Regions from separate parts of the Homo sapiens genome. Here region 2 is linked to region 1. Evidence: promoter capture Hi-C in 16 types of primary human blood cells and fetal thymus (Javierre and others, 2016). All regions are on one chromosome and are shown on one strand. Each heading gives the region's core, a stretch centred on a gene start or on the middle of the fragment in contact. The rest is flanking DNA. Distances are from core to core; before and after follow the strand shown.

What was found. The method cuts DNA at HindIII sites, captures the fragments that hold promoters and counts their contacts. A CHiCAGO score of 5 or more calls a contact.
Region 2: a fragment that was not itself captured here is called in contact with the fragment with the promoter of CCR9 in region 1 in 2 of 17 cell types (fetal thymus and total CD8 T cells); the score reaches 7.2 in fetal thymus.

What each region holds. Positions count from the first base shown.
Region 1 is chr3:45,885,181-45,888,973 of GRCh38, reverse strand. It overlaps CCR9 (C-C motif chemokine receptor 9), which reads right to left and starts at 2,431. Exons shown (of 3, transcript NM_031200.3): 1 at 2,319-2,431. It also overlaps a transcript of LZTFL1 not described here. RefSeq lists a promoter at 2,416-3,415. The HindIII fragment of the contact is 2,128 bases long and covers 2,090-3,793 here.
Region 2 is chr3:46,076,017-46,080,232 of GRCh38, reverse strand. It overlaps a transcript of XCR1 not described here. Among named protein-coding and RNA genes, the nearest start is that of XCR1, 51 kb to the right of the region's middle. The HindIII fragment of the contact is 2,590 bases long and covers 1,094-3,683 here.

The DNA.
Region 1 (3,793 bases), core at 1,182-3,681:
GTAATATATTATGGTGTATAATAGAATGTAATATATTACAGTTTATAAAATATGCATCTGCTTCTGGCTCATAGAAAATTTGGAGAGAGCCAAAGAGTAAAAACAGGACATACCCCTCCCTAGAGCCCACATCTAGAACCTCCACAGACAGCCTTGCCATCTATTTCTCTTTCATTTTTGTCAGAATACTTCTCAAATATTTTATTCTCCCAGCTACTAAGTCTCAGTGCTTGCTTTCATTTTTGTCTTGCCAGTGAGAAAGCGGGAAAAATATAGGGGGGAAAATCCCACATATGACCAAACATACTGAGAGTGAGGACCATCTCAGCGGTCTGTCGGGAGTGGATGGGCAGTTGACTCAGCACTGTGGCAAATCTCTCCCTTGCTGCTCAGTGAGGCCTTGTTGCAGGTGCCATGGGCCATCCATCGAACCCACTTATTCAATGTGCCTTGAGTACCTGATACATTTATTTGGCTTAAACAATGTGTAAGACATGATCCATGTCCTCAAGAAGCTTGCATTCAAATACACTGAGTAAGTCATGGCTGCAAATAACAACAAAGGGAAAGTGCTATGAGTTGTGGTAGGAATTGGAAGAAGGAGGTCATGTCTTTAGCTCTGGGGAGAATCCAGGAGGGCTTCATTGAAGAGGTGACATTTTTGCGGGTCCTTGAAGGCCGAAGAGCATGGAGACATGCAACGAGGGGAGGGAACATTGCTCCAGGGTGGGAAAACATATGCACTAAGGCATGAAAGTCAGAAAGCATGGGGTATGTGCAGGGACCTGGGAGATAAAGGAAGGGAGAGAGCTGCTAATTCTCCAAAAGAGAAAAGTGCCTATTAGAAAAGTTAGCTTGGAACCTATTATTATCCAATCACTATTTTTGTATTCTCTAACATTCTTACGTAGCCAACATGAAAATCAGCATGGGGTTATTGTGCACACAGCATCTCCCCACACTTATAGCCTCTGATGCTTACAGCACTAACATCAAATCAGATACTAACATGAGTCAGGAATGCAGGTCCTTACTTTGAACTTTGTACAATTTGCTACACGGAGCTTGAATCATCTCTTACATTTTTTCATAGCTCTGCTTTTTGTTCCCTACACGAGGCAGGGTCTCTGAGCCATCTATCAGATCCATCCACTCACCATGCCTGGATCAGATGCCTGCCAACCGCCCAGCAGGGGCTGCACAGGGCCCAGGGGCTCCCAACACAAGCCTGTGAGTGAGGCCTACACAAAGAGGCTTCAGAACAGATAAGCAGATATTGGAAGAAAAGGACTCCGAAATTCCAGATGCTGAAATAGTAAATTAGCTTTTGCTCGTTCAGGAAAGGGAGTAAGGAGATGGGATCCCACAGACTGGCTGCTGCACAGCCCTTCCGGTTCAGCACACAGTGACCACTCTCTGGATGGACTTGCCAGCCGTCTATGGAGTAACAGCTAATTCAGAACTAAAGAGGGTAGGTGTGTTTGAAAAGGCAAACCAGCATCCACTGATGAGTCATTTAAAATAACTTTTTGCTTTACTCTGATCATAAAGGAGTATTTTTACAATGCACAAAAAATCCCCAAAATGCCAACATACATAATATAGAAAATAAAAACTCCTGAAGCACCCTTTCCTAGTTTAGCCATTGTTAAGTTTCTGAGATACTTCCTTTCTGACTTTTTCTCTGTAACACAACCTCACACACACACACACACACACACAGACACACACGCACTTAATAGAAAGGAAATCAGACTACACATATAATCTTCTATCTTGCTTTCTAATTGCCCATCTTTCATGGATCACCTTCCATGCCAATTCAACATAGAACCGTATCATAGAATTGGATGGCTGCTGTGTATTCCATTGTCTAGATACATCACAATTCATTTAACCATTCGCCTCCTGATGCATAGTTTCCTTGTTTCCAGTTTTTCACTGCTACAAAGAATCCTTTCCATGGGGCAGTGTCTCAGACTCAAGGACCTCATGGGTGTGTCCTTTACCCCTGGCCACCATCTTGTCCCCCAGCACCTGCTTCTCCTTCCTTTAAGGTATAAATCACAGACTGCCTTAAGCCTAAGCTTCATGTATGTGAAGGGGGAGGGAGTTTTATTACTCGCCCTACAAGAAACCTGGGTTGGGCATCACCAATTCCCATTTACCTTCCTGGAAGTTTCTAGAAAAGTGCCTGGTGCCCATGACCTCTGAACAAATGAGTGCAAGCCCAGGTTTTAGAAGCCATCATAGCAGCACACAACTGAGGGCCAAGATGACACTGGGTTGGGGGCAACAAGAAGAAGAGCAATACTCACTGTGGAGGGCGATGCAACTCTCCCTGGGACAGCAGGCACCACCAGCTCTCAGTGTCTGGGGAAAGAGCTGGGTTGCTCTCTGCCTGGGATGAGGGGCAGGCTTTGTGGGTTCTGAGCAGGCAGCTACCCGATAACAACACGAGAAAGGAAGCCAGGCCACCCCTGCCTGTGTTGTCACTGGTGGGGTAGCCCAAGAGGGTGGGGAGTCACCTGTGTAGCTTCCAGCAATCAGCGGAGTCAATCATTTGCAACCAGAAACAAAAAGCTGAAAACTGCTGGGATAAGGGGAAACTGTCTCATCTGAAGACGCACATACAGACTGATGATCTAAGAGCAAATTCTCTTCCTAGACAGCACAGCTGCTTACAGGGAATGGGGAAATTGGAGGATCCCATCGAGAGAAGTCAGCCTTGTCAGGCTTGCCAGAGGTGCACACTGATGAGATTTCTTTAGGTGGTGTCACCTGAGCAGGCCTGTATCAGATTACCACCCAGTGGCAGATGTAGCACTATCCATCGCAACATACCTTTTCTGGCCTTGACAGACGTACCAGAACCCGGAGGGCTGTGCTATCCAACACAGTAGCTACTAGGCAGATGTGCCTATTTAAATTCAAATTAATTAAAATGCTAACTAGGGCCAGTGCAGTGGCTCACCTCTGTAGTCCCAGCACTCTGAGAGACTGAGGCGGGCAGATCACTAGGCAGAGCCTAGGAGTTCAAGAACAGCCTGGACAACATGGTGAAACCTCATCTCTACAAAACACACAAAAACAATTAGGCAGGCATGGTGGCCCATGCCTGTAGTCCCAGATACTCAGGGAAGCTGAGGTGGAAGGATCAGGAGGCAGAGGTTGTAGTGAGCCAAGATTGCACCACTGCACTCCACCCTGGGCAACAGACTGAGACCCTGTATCAAAAAAGAAAAATGTTTTAAGTGTTAACTAGTTTCTCAGTCATGCCAGGTACATTTCAAGTGCTCAATAGCCACATGCAGCTAGTGGCTATCCCAATGGACAATGCAGATACAGAACCTGTCCATCGTCGCCAACAGTGCTATTGAAAGGCACTGCTTTAGAAAGTCTGCCTGTGAGATGTAGCTAGGAACACATGGAGTGCTGGAAAGCCACAGACACCTTCAAATTGGGGCAAATCTAGTAAGGTTTTGCACATCAGATACATTAACAAAGATAATACAATAAATTGTATTAATTACAGGTGTTTTGGTAAAACTTTGAAAAAAGCTAAATATACAAAATATTGCATTTTTAATGAAGATCACAGACGAAGTCTTCCCATCCACTGCTACAGTGGGGACTTCAATCCTGATGTGATTAATGATTTCCTGTCATTGTTATGACAAAGATCCCTTTTATATATTTGTTCTGGGGGAAAATCATGACTACACTCTTGTGGATGTTAATTTCCACCTCTTGGTGTATTGATTGTCCCGAGGACTCAATGCCGCTCTGTCAT
Region 2 (4,216 bases), core at 1,139-3,638, 190 kb before region 1:
TCCAAGAGGTTGGAGACTTGTTGGCTTTTTTTTTCTTTTTTTTTTTTTGAGACAAGGACTTGTTCTGTTGCCCAGGCCAGAGTACAGTGGCACGATTATAGGTGATCTTGGAGGCTAGCATCAGGCATTCCATTCCAGAATATTGTTAAAAGGTTTTTTTTTTAACTGTTCAAAATAATTAAGCACAAATTCATCTGGCCTTTGAGTATATTGTTGAATTATCTTCCACTCTACATTTGAGGAAAGACCCAGGAAATGGCATCACAGAGAGACTTGGCTAAAGTGTGGATCTTCTCATGGTCAGCTTCTGTTTGTTTTTCCAAATCCTCTGAGGGATTTTTCCAGATTGCCTTTTTTGCCATTCAGTGGCCCTGCCTTCTCATACCAGCATGTGAACTAATTGATAAAGGTCAGAATATCTGGGCTTATAAGTCTGGACAATTAAAGCAGATTGTTCTGCAAACCCTATGGGATCTTGGAGCAGGTCAGGGAAGTCTTTTATAATATTCTTCAGTTCAGTTTTTGTCCAAGGGGTATACATAATAGTGGTCTCACCTCTTGCTGTGGTTTTACCTGAAAAGGGGCTGCCAAAATGGGGTTTCAGGGAGGGGGTTCAAGTTCTAGGGAATTTCCTAAGGTGGTAGTGGGAGGGAAGGAAGGGCAGGACAGGGGACTTGAGATAAGAGAGGATATAAAGGTGCAGGGGTAGGATGAGGAGAAACAGCTGGAAGTGGAAGGGAGGAGGGCTTCAAAGTCTTTTTAAATTCAGAAATAGATTTAGGATCTTTTTGTTTACCTCTTGGATTGAGGCAATTTTCTCAGAATTTATCTTAAAAAAACTCTAGGTGCCATTGGAAGTAATTATCCTATTTCATGTTCTAAAACCAGCTTTTTTCTCTATTGTGCACACAAATGAATCATTTTGGGCATTTCAAAAGACCCACATTTTGGCCATTGTTGATGATCATCCTGGGCTATATGGGTCCGTTTTCCTAGATATTTACAAGAGGATGTCTCATAAGTGTTGTACATAAAACCAGATGGTGTTTCTAACAATGGTTGTCCCTTAAAAGAGCGCTCAGATTTTCAAGCTTGATTTCCCGTAACTTAGGAACTTCTTAAAAATGACCAAGGCCCAGGATGTGTTTGGGTGGAAGTGTGGTGCTTACGAGCACTGCTCCTCTAGGTGTCACCCAAAAGTCATGAGTTGCTCTCTTACGTTGTCTCAGAATGCCTCTAACCACCAGGTGGCACCAGAGTGCTAAAGGTATGAGCGATCAGTCCCGTATTTTATGCCCATGCAGATGATCGAGTCCCTAAAAAACGTTCTTGTGGTGAGGAATACCCTACGAGCGTCCTTTATATCCTAGACAACAGCCTTGACACCTCTGCAAAGTCTGCAGAGACTCTGCAAACTCTGCAAAGTCTCCAGTCACCTAGAGCACTCCAATTGGTCAAAGTGAGCAACTGCCCTTTCTCCATAGCAAGAGAACTCACTCTCATGCACTTTTCAGTTTAGAACTAATAGGAATTGGTCACAGATGAAACATCCAAGTCTGAATTTCAAACAATAGGAAGCAGCTGCAATTTTAAAAGCGTGCTATGTAAAGCAAAACCACCAATGTCAAATTGCCAATGCCTGGACCCAGACCTCCCTTCCCCAAGGCAGAGGTGAAAAAACGCTGTTCCCCCTACCCTTTTTCTTTTCTGGAACCCAAATCTCCTGCCCATTAGGCACAGATGGAAAACTCCCATTCTAGTAAGGGAGGATCGGAAAACATAGCTCAGGCAAAATCTAGACCTTCAACCAAAAAATGGGAAAGGCCCAGATCTCAGCAGGACTCATACCTTACATTCAACAATTTCTCTCAAAGTCAGAATACAAGAGGTTCCCAGAGCTGGCCAGGCGCTGAGTCTGGGAGGTAAGTCAGATAGTAGAGCCAAGGGGGTTATTCTGAATCCTTCTCATGGCACCAAAAATGCTGACCCCAAAGGAAGAAGATGAGGCACAAAATATATTCATAATTTTGAAGACTTTACTTGAGCCAACATGAGGCCAGCTGCTCAGGACACACTTCCAAGTTGCTTTGGGGAGTGCCGCATCCAGCCTTTGTTGCGAGCAGGCTTTTTAAAAAATAATTTCAACTTTTATTTTAGATTCAGGGGGTTACATGTGCATGTTTGTTACATGGCTATATTGCATGATGCTGAAGTTTGGGGTACAAATGATGCCATCAGCCAGGTAGCGACCATGGTACCCAATAGGTGGTTTTTCAGTCTTTGCCCCTTTCCTTCTCTCCCCACTCTAATAGTCCCCAATGTGTGTTGTTCCCAGCTTTATGTCCCTGTGTGCCTAATGTTTAGCTCTCACTTATAAGTGAGAACGTGCGGTATTTGGTATTCTGTTCCTGTGTTAATTCACTTAGAATAATTGTCTCCAGCTGCATCCATTCAGGCAGGTTTTTAAAGACAAAAAGTGAGCAAGGAGTGGACTGATACAAAGCTATTTGACAGGAATTCTCATTGGTTTGCAGAAATAACATTGATTAGTGATTGGCTTTATGTTGTTGAGCTACAGCAGTGGTCCCCAAAATTTTGGCACCAGGGACGAGTTTCATGGAAGACAATTTTTCCACAGACCTAGGAGGAGTAGGGGAGATGGTTTGGGGATGAAGCAAGTGCATTACATTTATTGTGCACTTTATTTCTATTATTGTTACATTGTAATATATAATGAAATACATGACTCACCATAATGTAGAATCAGTAAGAGCCCTGAGCTTGTTTTCCTGCAACTAGATGGTCCCATCTGGAGGTGATGGGAGACAGTGGCAGATCATTAGGAATTAGATTTTCGTAAGGAGCATGCAACCTAGGTCCCTCGCATGCACAGTTCACAATAGGGTTTGCACTTCTATGAGAATCTAATACTGCTGCTGATCTGACAGGAGGAGGACCTCCGGTGGTAATACTAGAAATGGGTAGCAGCAGATAAAGTTTTGCTCACTTGCCTGCCCACTGCTTACCTCCTGCTGTGCAGCCTAGTTCCTAACTGGTCTGCGTCCCAGAGGTTGAGGACCCCTGAGCTAGAGGATATGAGTTGTGGCATCCATGATTATGGTATATGGCATTTTATAGCTACGTGGCATCAGTTAGTCCAGAGCCCACAGCAAGTGGCTTCAAGAGGTAACTACTTAGCTCAAGCAGGGACTGAGATGTGACAGCTTTTTACTCCAAAGCCTTTCTGGGCTGGATATATTAAAGGGGTTTGTATTCCTCACATAAAAAGTTTCTTTTCTCTCTCAGTGCTCACACAGGGGTCAGCTTTACCCCAGTGAGATGAAATTCAAGTGCAATCCTTGACTTCTCCTATGGCAAGTCCAAGTATTCTTTCCTCAGAAGTGACAATATTACTTCAATAGAGGGCAGTGGCCCACAGCAAATTTCTCTAGCATCTGGAAAGTGAAACTATCAAGAAGGCCAACCTGATAAGGTCAGTTTGGGACCATTGAGGTATAGCCCCTTGTTTTCTATGCCCCAGCATAGAAACTTTCCTCCTTCCCAGGGAAATATGTGAACTAAACAGGAGCCACAATTCTGTCTTTTAACTTTGCTGCTGCTGATTTCAATGATATCCTATTTTTTTTTTTTTTTTCAAAATAATGGCTACCATTTGTTAAGCTTCTACAAAATGGCAATCATTGACCAACATCACATCTAAAGCACTCAACTCTGCAAGATGAGTGTCTTTCTCATTTTACAGCTGAGGAAGCTGAGGCACAAAATATATTAATAATTTTGAAGACTTTACTTGAGCCAATGTGGGGCCAGCTCAGACAAAATATTCAGCCAAGAAGTAGGAACGGCCCAGATTTCAGCAGGACTCATACCTTACATTCAACAATTTCTCTCAAAGCCAGAAGAATACAAGGGGTTCCCAGAGCTGGCCAAGTGCTGAGTGTGGGTGGTATGTCAGATGGTAGAGACAAGGGTATCTTTCAAATTTGCCTAAATTGTAGGACCACATGGAGTAATTGTTTTGCATACAAAATCCAAGTCTCCCCTGGGCAGTGGTTCTTAATCTTAGCTGCTCATGGAATCACTTGGGGCAGGGTTGGAAGGTGACTGTTAAAAAATCTTGGTGGCCCAGGCCAGCACTATCTATCCTGTTGGCTCTTTTTCCTGGAGAACCCTGACTAACACATATGGTGCGTGC